2 separate regions of the Homo sapiens genome follow, and region 2 is linked to region 1. The links are contacts of gene promoters, found by promoter capture Hi-C in blood cells and fetal thymus (Javierre and others, 2016). All regions are on one chromosome and are shown on one strand. The core of a region is centred on a gene start or on the middle of the fragment in contact, and the rest is flanking DNA. Distances in the headings are between cores, read along the strand shown.

Evidence for each region. Contacts are between HindIII fragments. The CHiCAGO score rates a contact against its expected background, and 5 or more counts as called.
Region 2: a contact is called between a fragment that was not itself captured here and the fragment with the promoter of DACT3-AS1 in region 1, in 1 of 17 cell types (naive B cells). The highest score is 5.2, in naive B cells.

The regions. Positions count from the first base shown.
Region 1 is chr19:46,658,784-46,663,759 of GRCh38, forward strand. DACT3-AS1 (DACT3 antisense RNA 1) reads left to right here and starts at 1,581. Exons shown (of 3, transcript NR_040042.1): 1 at 1,581-1,625. It overlaps DACT3 (dishevelled binding antagonist of beta catenin 3), which reads right to left and starts at 2,399. Exons shown (of 4, transcript NM_145056.3): 1 at 2,033-2,399. The coding sequence starts at 2,281. RefSeq lists silencers at 2,197-2,446, 2,657-2,776. The HindIII fragment of the contact is 2,055 bases long and covers 437-2,491 here.
Region 2 is chr19:46,525,516-46,530,063 of GRCh38, forward strand. It overlaps the pseudogene PPP5D1P. Among named protein-coding and RNA genes, the nearest start is that of PNMA8B, 32 kb to the left of the region's middle. The HindIII fragment of the contact is 4,232 bases long and covers 239-4,470 here.

The DNA.
Region 1 (4,976 bases), core at 331-2,830:
GCCCCTCGTTGGTATCCAGTGCCCATTTATCTCTATTAGGAAGTCATTCTGCAAGTCTAACTTAAGTTATTCTTGATGAAAGGAACCTTTTTCCTTCTTGAGAGCAAGCAGGACCCAGGGAGCCCCTGCCCTCACCCAGGATTCCTGCCTCTCTTCTCTGCCACACCCCTGATCTTTACCTGGTATCCCCATCATTCCTATTAGAAAGTAATCAAGTCTGGCTTCAGTCTTTCTTGCCTTGAAGGAAGTGTATTCCTGGCAGGGGCTGGGGGTGGGGGGATAAGTCATAAGACAAGGGTTGGGGGATCAGAAGAAGCCCTAATCCACTCTTCAGAGGGACCCAGGAACCCCCAGCACTAGAGAAGTTTATATTTAGCGCTTCTCTGCTCCTCCTCCTCCCCCCGCCTGCCACCGCCTCCTCCCTGATGCTGGGACAAGCTTTGCCTAGAGACTGGGGGGTGGGGGGACAGGCCTCTCCACTATCAGCTCGTGCCGGGAGGACAGAGGGCTGAGGGGGAGGAGGGGACAGAGGGACCGAGGAGAGGGAGACTGAAGGGCAGAGATGGGGAAGGTGAAGGGTGAAAAGGGGAGAGACCGAGGGCAGAGGGGGAGAGGACACAGCTACCCACAGCTACCCCAACCTCATGCCTCGCATTCTCCTTGTCAGGATGGAAGGCGCCTTCCAAGCCGAGCCAGCTTGGGGTGGGGGGAGCTAGCGAAGGCCCCCACAATCCGTCTCTAACTTTGGGAGGGGGTGGGGCCTCCCACAGCTGTTTCTGTTTCCAGAAAAGAATGTGCAGGGGGGTCCCACTCCTGAGAGGGGGAGGGGCCGGGCGTGCAGCCCCGGGAGCCTGGCTTCAGTCTTCCTCCCCACTCCCCATCTGGGGAGGGGGCGGTCGAGGTCAGCGGCGGGGAGAGCCCCCTCCACTGCCACCTCGGCTCAGGTTTCCCGAAACGGGAAGCTCTGGCCACACACAGGCTTGGGGATGGGGATCTGCCGTGGAGCCAGGGTGTGCGGGCTGGGGGGAGGGGAAGACAGACTGAGCCTGGGACGTCGGGCAAGAAGAAGAGAGCGAGGTGCAGACAGGCAGGAAGGGAAGGCCAAGGAGACAGATGCAGAGGGACACAGAGATCACAGAGACAGAGAGACAGGATGAAGAAAGAGAAGCAGACACAGAAAGTCACAGGGATGTGGCAGGACGGAGAGAGTGACAGAACCCAGGACGAGATCGGGAGACTCAAGGAATGACATAGAAAGGGGAGAGGCATGGGGCGTCCTCAAGTCATTCCGGAGACCTCTGCCCATCTTCCACCATGAGAACACCCAGAGTCCAGAAGTCTCCCCCAGGCGCTGCCTCGACCTGCCTCCCCTTGGGTCAAGGAGAGCTGGGGCCAGGTAGGAAGCAGGGGAAGTGTCACCAAAGGGTCAAGATCCCAGTGGGGGGTCCTCAGGGACTGTGAGCTTCCTCTCAGCAGTGGTCCCTCCCTCTGGAGGCCCTGAGATTCCCCTCCTCCCACCCCGCCCCCTCCAGAGATCTCCAAGCACACCAGGACTTAGGGAAGATGGAGCCCTGGTGGCGGGGCCCAGAGAAGGGCATGTTTGGAGCCTGGCTGTGTCACCTTGGGTGAGTCGCTTGCTCTCTCTGAGCCTCAATTTGTTTCTCTGTTAAATGGGGACTATCACCCCGTTTCCCAAGCCGCAAGAAGACAACGCCTGCAAAGTACCCGGTCTCGGGTTTGACACATACTTGGCGCCCACAAGGATTTTCTTTGGGGAAGGGGTGTAAGAGACAGGGCCTGTGTTTCTCACGAGGCCCCAGTGGGGGCGATGCAGTTCCCCCTCCCCCGATTTGGGGGCGGGGAGGCCAGGTCCGGCCCGCCGCCGGAACTCCGGGGTCGCCAGCCCCACCCCCTGTCCTTTCTCACTCCCTGCCTACCCGGGTCCCCAACCCCCGCCCGGTGTCTGAGCATCCAACCGAGACAGACAGACACAGACGGGGGTGGAGGGACGGACGGACAGGCAGCCCCTTACCAGCTGCTCCTCCAGGGCCGCTGCGGCCCGGCGCGCCGCCGCCGCATCTTCATCCTCATCGGCGTCCTCCTCGTCCTCGGCCTCGGCGCCCCCCATTCCGGGCTGGGCCAGCCGCAGCGCCTGCTGCACGCGGTACTCCTGCCTCTCCCGGAGCCAATGTAACTCGCAGAGCCCGGCCAGGCTACCCTCCAGCCAGCCCCGCAGCCGGCCCCGCTCAGGGCTCACCGGGAACGAGAAGGCCCGGATCATGGCTGCGGCCCCCCGCCCCAGCCCGGCCGGGCCCCGCGGCCACCCCTCTCCCGGTCCCACCTCCCCGCCCCAGCAGCCTGCCCGCCCGCCCGCTGGCCGGGCTGTCACCGTCTCATCTGCATAGGCGCCCGCCCATTGGGCCGCCCACCCGCGCCTTATCTGCATGGCCACGCCCCCGGCGACCGAGCAACAGCCGCCTATTGGCGAATAAGCTTCCTGACGAAGACTCTCGGGCGTGCAACCGCACCGCCCAACACGACGCATGCTCGCAACTGCCTACTCACTCCGCTCGCCACGCCCCCTCCGTGCAACTGCCTCGGGGCCCTGGCCACGCCCCCCCACGCGTCACAATGAAACAAGCCCGCCCTTGCTTCAATGCCATTGGTCTGTGCCTGGCCGGTCCTGCAGCAGGTTCCACCCTCTTGCGGGCGAGCGCTGGCTACCATTGGACTGTCCGGCGCGAGGGGAAGGGTGATCTATAAATAGGGAATGGGTACACGTGACAGTTTGGCAGCTGCTCCTACCCCTCCACCCCGCCCAACCTTCAGCTTCTGAGGCTGCGCAGGGGGAGAAAAGGGTTAGGGGGTCGAGCCCTGACTTCGCCTCCTCTTCCAAGAAGCCTTCCCAGACACTCAGCTGTAAAACCAGACGGACGTCCTCCGATGAAATTGTTTCTACTTAGGGCCGGCTTCACCGGCTTGGAATCCACTTAGAAGGGTCTTCGCGCTTGGTTGAATGTTCTGCAATTTCTGTCTTGAAATTTTTAGTTTTTGAGCAAGGGGCCCCTTATTTTCACTTTGCACTAGGCCAAATATGTAGCCGGTCTTGCTGCTAAGAGTCTAAGATCGATTGCATTCCAAATTCTGGAATTATAAGACCCTGGGTGGAAGATTCTATGCTTTGACCAGAAGAGAGTCTAAGCAGCTTTTGTCTCCCAGGTGCTAGGAGGATGTGTGCTCATCATTCTTCCATTCCAGGGGCCTTTGTTCTACGTTCTAAGGGGCTTTGTTCTCAGCCTTCTATGATGCTCTATTCTCAACGTTCTCTGGTCCTAGGAGTCTGAGCCTGACATTCGTTTCCAAGGCTTCCTGCTGTCTCTCCAGGCTCCGCAAGCAGGGCTGGGGCACCCTCAGGCGGCCAATCTGTATCACTACGCCGAGCCTGCCTCTACCAACTTCCAAGACCTAGCTCTAATATTCATACTCATCTCTCAGACAGACCTTGGCTCCCTAAAAGCCAAGGCCCAGAAGATCATACAAGAAATTCCCTCTTTTATGATTCCCCGTGCACGAAGTGACCTTCTGGTGGTGAGATGGAGAGAAATTGATAGTGGCGATAGACAGCAAAGTCTCCAGGAGCCAGACTTCCTCGGGGTGAGTCACAGATCTGTCACTTTCCAGCTGTGTGACCTTGGAAAACTTACTTAACCTCTCTGTGCCACCGTTTCTTCATCTGATCACGGGATCATAATACTGGCTGCCTCATACAGTTGTTCTGAGGATTCAATGAAATGTATTAGGTACTTGGAGCAGTGTCTTCCATGGATTAAGAGCCACAGAAGGGTTTGACAAATAAGTTTAAAAACTAATCTAGTAAGTTTCCGGGGGGAAATGTCTTGAAATTTATTAGAGACAACCTTTATTCAGTCTTCCTCTTGTTCAAAATAGACTTAGAAAATTAGTCGGGTGTGGTGGTGCACACCTGTAGCCCCAGCTACTTGGGAGGCTGAGGCGGGAGGATCACTTGATTTCCTTTTTGACTTCTTGATGCTTTTATTAATGATGATGCCAAAAGATTTCTGGAGAATCAGCCAGGCGCAGTGGCTCACGTCTGTAATCCCAGTACTTTGGGAGGCTGAGGCGGGCAGATCACCTGAGTTCAGGAGTTCAGATCAGCCTGGCCAACATGGCGAAACCCCATCTGTACTAAAAATACAAAAATTAGCTGGGCATGATGGCACACACCGAGACTGTGGCACTGCACTCCAGCCTGGGTAACAGAGGGAGACTCCGTCTCAAAAAAAGAAAGAAAGAAAGAAATTGAGAGAGAGAGAGAGAGAAAGAAAGAAAGAAAAAGAAAGAGAGAGAGAAAGAAAGATAGATGTCTGGAGAATCAACAAGCAACAGTTGCTTCCAAACATGGCACACAAACTGGATATGGTGGCATGTACCTGTAGTGCGAGCTACTCAGGAGGCTGAGGCAGGAGGATCACTTGAGCCTGGGAGGCTGAGGCTACAGTGAGCCATGATTGCACCATTGCACTCCAGCCTGGGTGACAGAGCAAGACCCAATCTTTAAAAAAAAAAAAAAAAATTGTGATTACAGAGACTGAGTCCCATGCAGGGGCTGTTAATGAAGTTGCAGAAGCTCATAGACCTTGATTTATAGATGGTAGGGATGGGAAGAGGTTCCCATAAAAATCGAGTGGTGCGTTGGGAGAGGCCTTTGAGGAAGGCGTGTAGGGCACAGTGCTCCATCCAAAGGCTTTGGTGGTGCGAGTGAAGGGGATGGGGCCCTGGGAGTAGTGATTTGTGCTGAGAAAGGGGAACAAAACTGACAATCCTAATTGCAGTTGTAAGACTGAGTAAACACTTTTGCAAAAGTAAGCCAGGGGCATTGTGGATCTTGCAGGCTGGAAGGTAGAATAGGGAGGGGAGATGTGTCATTTGGGAAGAGACAGAAGTTACAGCTGGAG
Region 2 (4,548 bases), core at 1,105-3,604, 130 kb before region 1:
CTGCCAATCCATAATGACCACGACTCCTGTTTGGTGTTGGCTGTTGTGGCTGCCCTTCTCCTGTCATTTTGCTCAGTGCCCGCGCCTGGCAGTGCTGTGATGCCATCCCAGGGTTCCCGGGTGCCCGGTACCTGACAGGTGCATTACCTGGTAGGCGCATTTCTGGTGCAGTTTCTTCTGGTCCTTGTACCACTGCATGAGCCCCTTCATGAAGGTGATTGTCACTTTGTCGTCCTCAAGCTTGGGTCCGCTGTACTCACCCTCGATGGCTGGCATGTGAACAGGGGAGACACGAGAGTCAGCGACCACGGCCACTGTAAGGGGGAAGGGGGTCTTGCTCCCAGGGATGAGGTGGACCTGGCTCTGGACACACAGATTGAGAGAGGGACAGAGCGAGTGAAGAGTCCCCTCTCTGGTCAGGTCTGGCCCAGAGGCCTCTTCCTGACCTCCTTCTCTTCCTTCACCCGCCCCCCTTTACCCTATTCAGTTTTATGGCACTTAGCACGATTCATTTTGTGACTTGTTCATCATCTTATCTGCCTCCTAGAATATCAGCTCCATGCGGACAGGAAGGGTTTTGTTCATAGCTGTACCCCCAGTGCCTAGGACAGTGCCTGGCACATAGGAGATGCTCAATAATCATCTGTGGGATGAATGGCTGGACCTTCTCAGCACCTAGAGGTGAACCAGACACAGCCTGTGGGGGCGGGGCTACTGCCGGCAGAGAGGGAGGGAGGAGAGGATGACAGAGTGGCCAAGAAGCCAGCATGGAGAAGGGCCCGGGCAGGGGTGATGCTGGTGGGTAGGGAAGGTGTATTAGTCCATTTTCACATTGCTGATAAAGACATACCCGAGACTGGGTAATTCATAAAGAATAAGAGGTTTAATGGACTCACAGTTCCATGTGGCTGAGGAGGTCTCACAATCATGGTGGAAGATGAAAGGCACGTCTCATGTGCCGACAGGCAGGAGAGAATGAGAACCAAGTGAAAGGGGAAACCCCTTATAAAACCATCAGATCTCGTGAGACTTACTCACTACCACGAGAACAGTATGGGGGAAACTGCCTCCACGATTCAATTATCTCCCACCAGGTCTCTCCCACAACATGTAGGAATTATGGGAGTTACAATTCAAGATGAGATTTGGGTGGGGATGAGATTTGGGTGGGGACACAGCCAAGCCATATCAGCGGGGTGTTGCAGCTCCTGACCTCGCCCATTGGGAATCATGAGACGGAGCTTTGGGCTGCGGATGGAGCGCCCTGGAACACAGGCAGAGGAGCGACAGACAGCAGCCTGGGGGCAGAACAAGGGGCTACCCTTGAGCCCACCCCCACCCCCAGGGAATGGAGAAGGCCCGTGTGGAATGTTCTGGGCTGGAGCGTGGAGCATCCAGGCCTGACTCACTCATGCTCTCGATGTCCAGCGAGTCCACCACGGAGCGCTTGTGCTCGTCGCCTGCGATGGCCCGCTCAAAGGCCTTCTGCTTCACGATCTTGTTGCACTCCTGGTATTTCATTTTGGCATCCTTGTCGTGGGGCTTCACCTTGACCACCTGGGTGGGAGGGAAGGGGCGTGCACACTGAGGCCGAGGTGGGGGCACAGCGGCTGTCCCCAGGCTGCCCAGCCCTGGATTCCATGAACGCGGAAGTCAGGCTGCCCGGGCACCAGTGCTGATGGTGCAACCCTGGACATGTTTAACCTCCAAGTCTTGGTTTCTGCACCCCAAAACTGTCCATAGCTAAGCTGCTCACACCGGCACACTTCATCAACCTTAGCTATAACTACATTAAAATCAAACACCTTGCCCGTCTGAGGACCATGGGCTCAGCTCCTGGTCCCCCGTGGGAACCAGTGCAGGCAGCGACAACTCCAGGCTTCCCAGCCTTGGACTCCAGGACTTACGCCAGCTGCCCCTCAAATCCTCAGGCCTTTGGCTTCGGACTGAGAATTACACCGTTGGCTTCCCCAGTTCTGAGGCCTTCGGACTTGTTCTGAGCCACACTCCCTGCATCCCAGGGTCTCCAGCCTGCACACAGCCTCAGGACTTCTCCGCCTCCATAATTGAATGAGCCAGTTGCCCAATAAACCCCTTCTCCTATCTCTGTCTACACATATCCTGTTGATTCTGTCTCTTTGGAGAACTCTGATTAATATGCTTCCTCTATGAAACAAACAGGGCTGTTCCTAGCCATCTCCCAGCCCCTAGGGAGATGAAACGCCATGGCATACCTGGCCACCGCAGGGCTCAATTAAGATGAGCTGTAATTATTATTATTATTATTACTTTGAGATGGAGTCTCACTCTGTCACTCAGGCTGGAGTGTAGTGGCGCAATCTTAGCTCACTGCAACCTCCATATTCTGGGTTCAAGCAATCCTCCTTCCTCAGCCTCCTGAGTGGCTGGGATTACAGGCGCCTGACACCACCCCCAGCTAATTTTTGTATTTTTAGTAGAGATGGAGGTTTCACCATGTTGGCCAGGCTGATCTGGAACTCCTGACCTCCTGCCCACCTCAGCCTCCCAAAGTGCTGGGATTATAGGCATGCGCCACCGCACCTGGCCAAGGTGAGTTGTCATTATTCTTCTTATTGTTATTCCCACAGCCCTGGAGCCTGGGGCTCTGTGCCTTCTACTGCCTGCCAGACAGCGAGGGGCCTGGGCCAGCAGGGCCGTTCTCCTCCGTGCCAGCTCAGTGCCAGGCCCCTCTGGCTGCCTGCCCAGCCCCAGGACTCCTGAGAGCCTGGATCCGGGGTCCTGGGGGGTAAGGGGCCCCTCCCAAAGGCTGCTGTTGCCCGGAACTCTGACGCAGCCTCAGCAGCAACCCCCAAGCAGGCTGCTCCCATCCCAGGGAAGTCCACCTTCCACCCCATCACCCAGCTGAGACTGAGCCTCATCCTGGACTCCTCCCGACCCCTCAGCCCCCACAGCCCGGCAGTCACTTCACTTCTTCTGCCAAGTCGGCCTCCTGAACATCTCTCAGATCCAGCCATTCCCTTCTCACCCTCCAGCCCCACCCAGCCCTGACCTGGCCTCTCCTGCCCACGTTCCTGGCTCAGCCTCCACCTGGCCTCACAGCCTCTTGTCCTGCCCTTCCAGAGGGGTGTTCCTAAGGCACAAACCTGACCCTGTCCTTTCCCTACTCGGAACCTCCCAGGGCTCCCAGAGCCTCCCGCAGAAAGCCCTGGCTCTCCCCACGGCCCTGCGTGATCTGCTCCCTGCAGCTTCATCATAACCCCCACGCACACACACTGCAGCCCCACTCACCGCCTCCATGCTAGGCTCCGCTAACCTCTGGAACTTTGCCACCAGGTTCTTTCTGCCTGAAGGCCAAAACCATCAACCCCCTAGGGAGACCCCCAGGCATGCGTCCAGAGACCCAGCATCCCCCATCCCTCGTCCACTATGTCACCCCACTGTGAGAGCTGAAAGGTTGTTTCTGCCCATTCAGGGACAGAGCCTACCCCAGGAGGCCCACTAGATTCTCAGGCCCACCAGGGCCCATGAGTGGCAGGACCCACACTGGGGGACTGGGAGCTGTGACCCTCTAGGCTAACGGGGAACTATGGGAGCTCTGCCTGGGGACACAGGGCCCCAGGCCTGGGCCAGTTCAAGAGATGAGTGGCTGGCAGCTCCCAGCAGATCACCAGGCTGGGGACGAACCCTGAGGGTGAGAGAGACTCCTCTCCCAAACTAGGAGTGGGCTAGGGTCCTGGACTTTGCCCCAACATCCCCCTCCCACGCCCTGCACGCCTTCAGCCCACACCATTCCACGCTTTCAGCCCACGCCTTCTGCGGCCTCCCCGTCGGGTCCAGCCTCAGCCTCACCCGTCCCATTCATCCACATGACATCGCAAACTTGACCCTCCCCCTCCCTTATTCCAAAATTTTCTCTAGTTCCCCAGTGCCCCGGGAACAAGTCGGGTTCCTATGAAGCCCTGTATCCCGCAGTCCCACCTTCTCCCCAGTGTTAAGCTCTACTCAGGTGGGGTTCCTCTGCCTCCCCCTACCGGGCTGTAAACCCCCCGGGAAGGTAGGACCTGGGCTGTTTCAGTCCCCATCTAGGCAGGATCAGACCCTGGTGAATGCATGTGGAGGGAAGAAAGGGAAAGAAAGGGAGGAAGGGACAGAATAAGAAGGGGAGGGAGGGTGGTGCCCTTTAAAATCAAAACCTCTGGTTTCATCTTTCTTCCCTGAACTGGCTCCCCACGCCCACCAGAGGGCGCTCTGACCCAGCAAATTCCTCATACAGCAACAGCCCGTTCTACACACAAAAGGGAATTATGAAAATAAGGATTGACACCAATAATCGATACTTAAAGCCCTACTGTGACCAGTACCTATGCTAAATTATCCACGTGCCTAAATCAACACAGCAATTCTGAGAATATCTTATAAATGAGGAAAGTGAGGCTCAGAGAGGTCATTTAACTTTCCCAGTGTCACACAGCACATAAGCTGCAGAGAAGCTTCCAGCTCTGGCCTTGGTAACCCCACAACCTTCCGTTCCTTGGTCATAGCCTGACGTGACCAAACCACAATGCC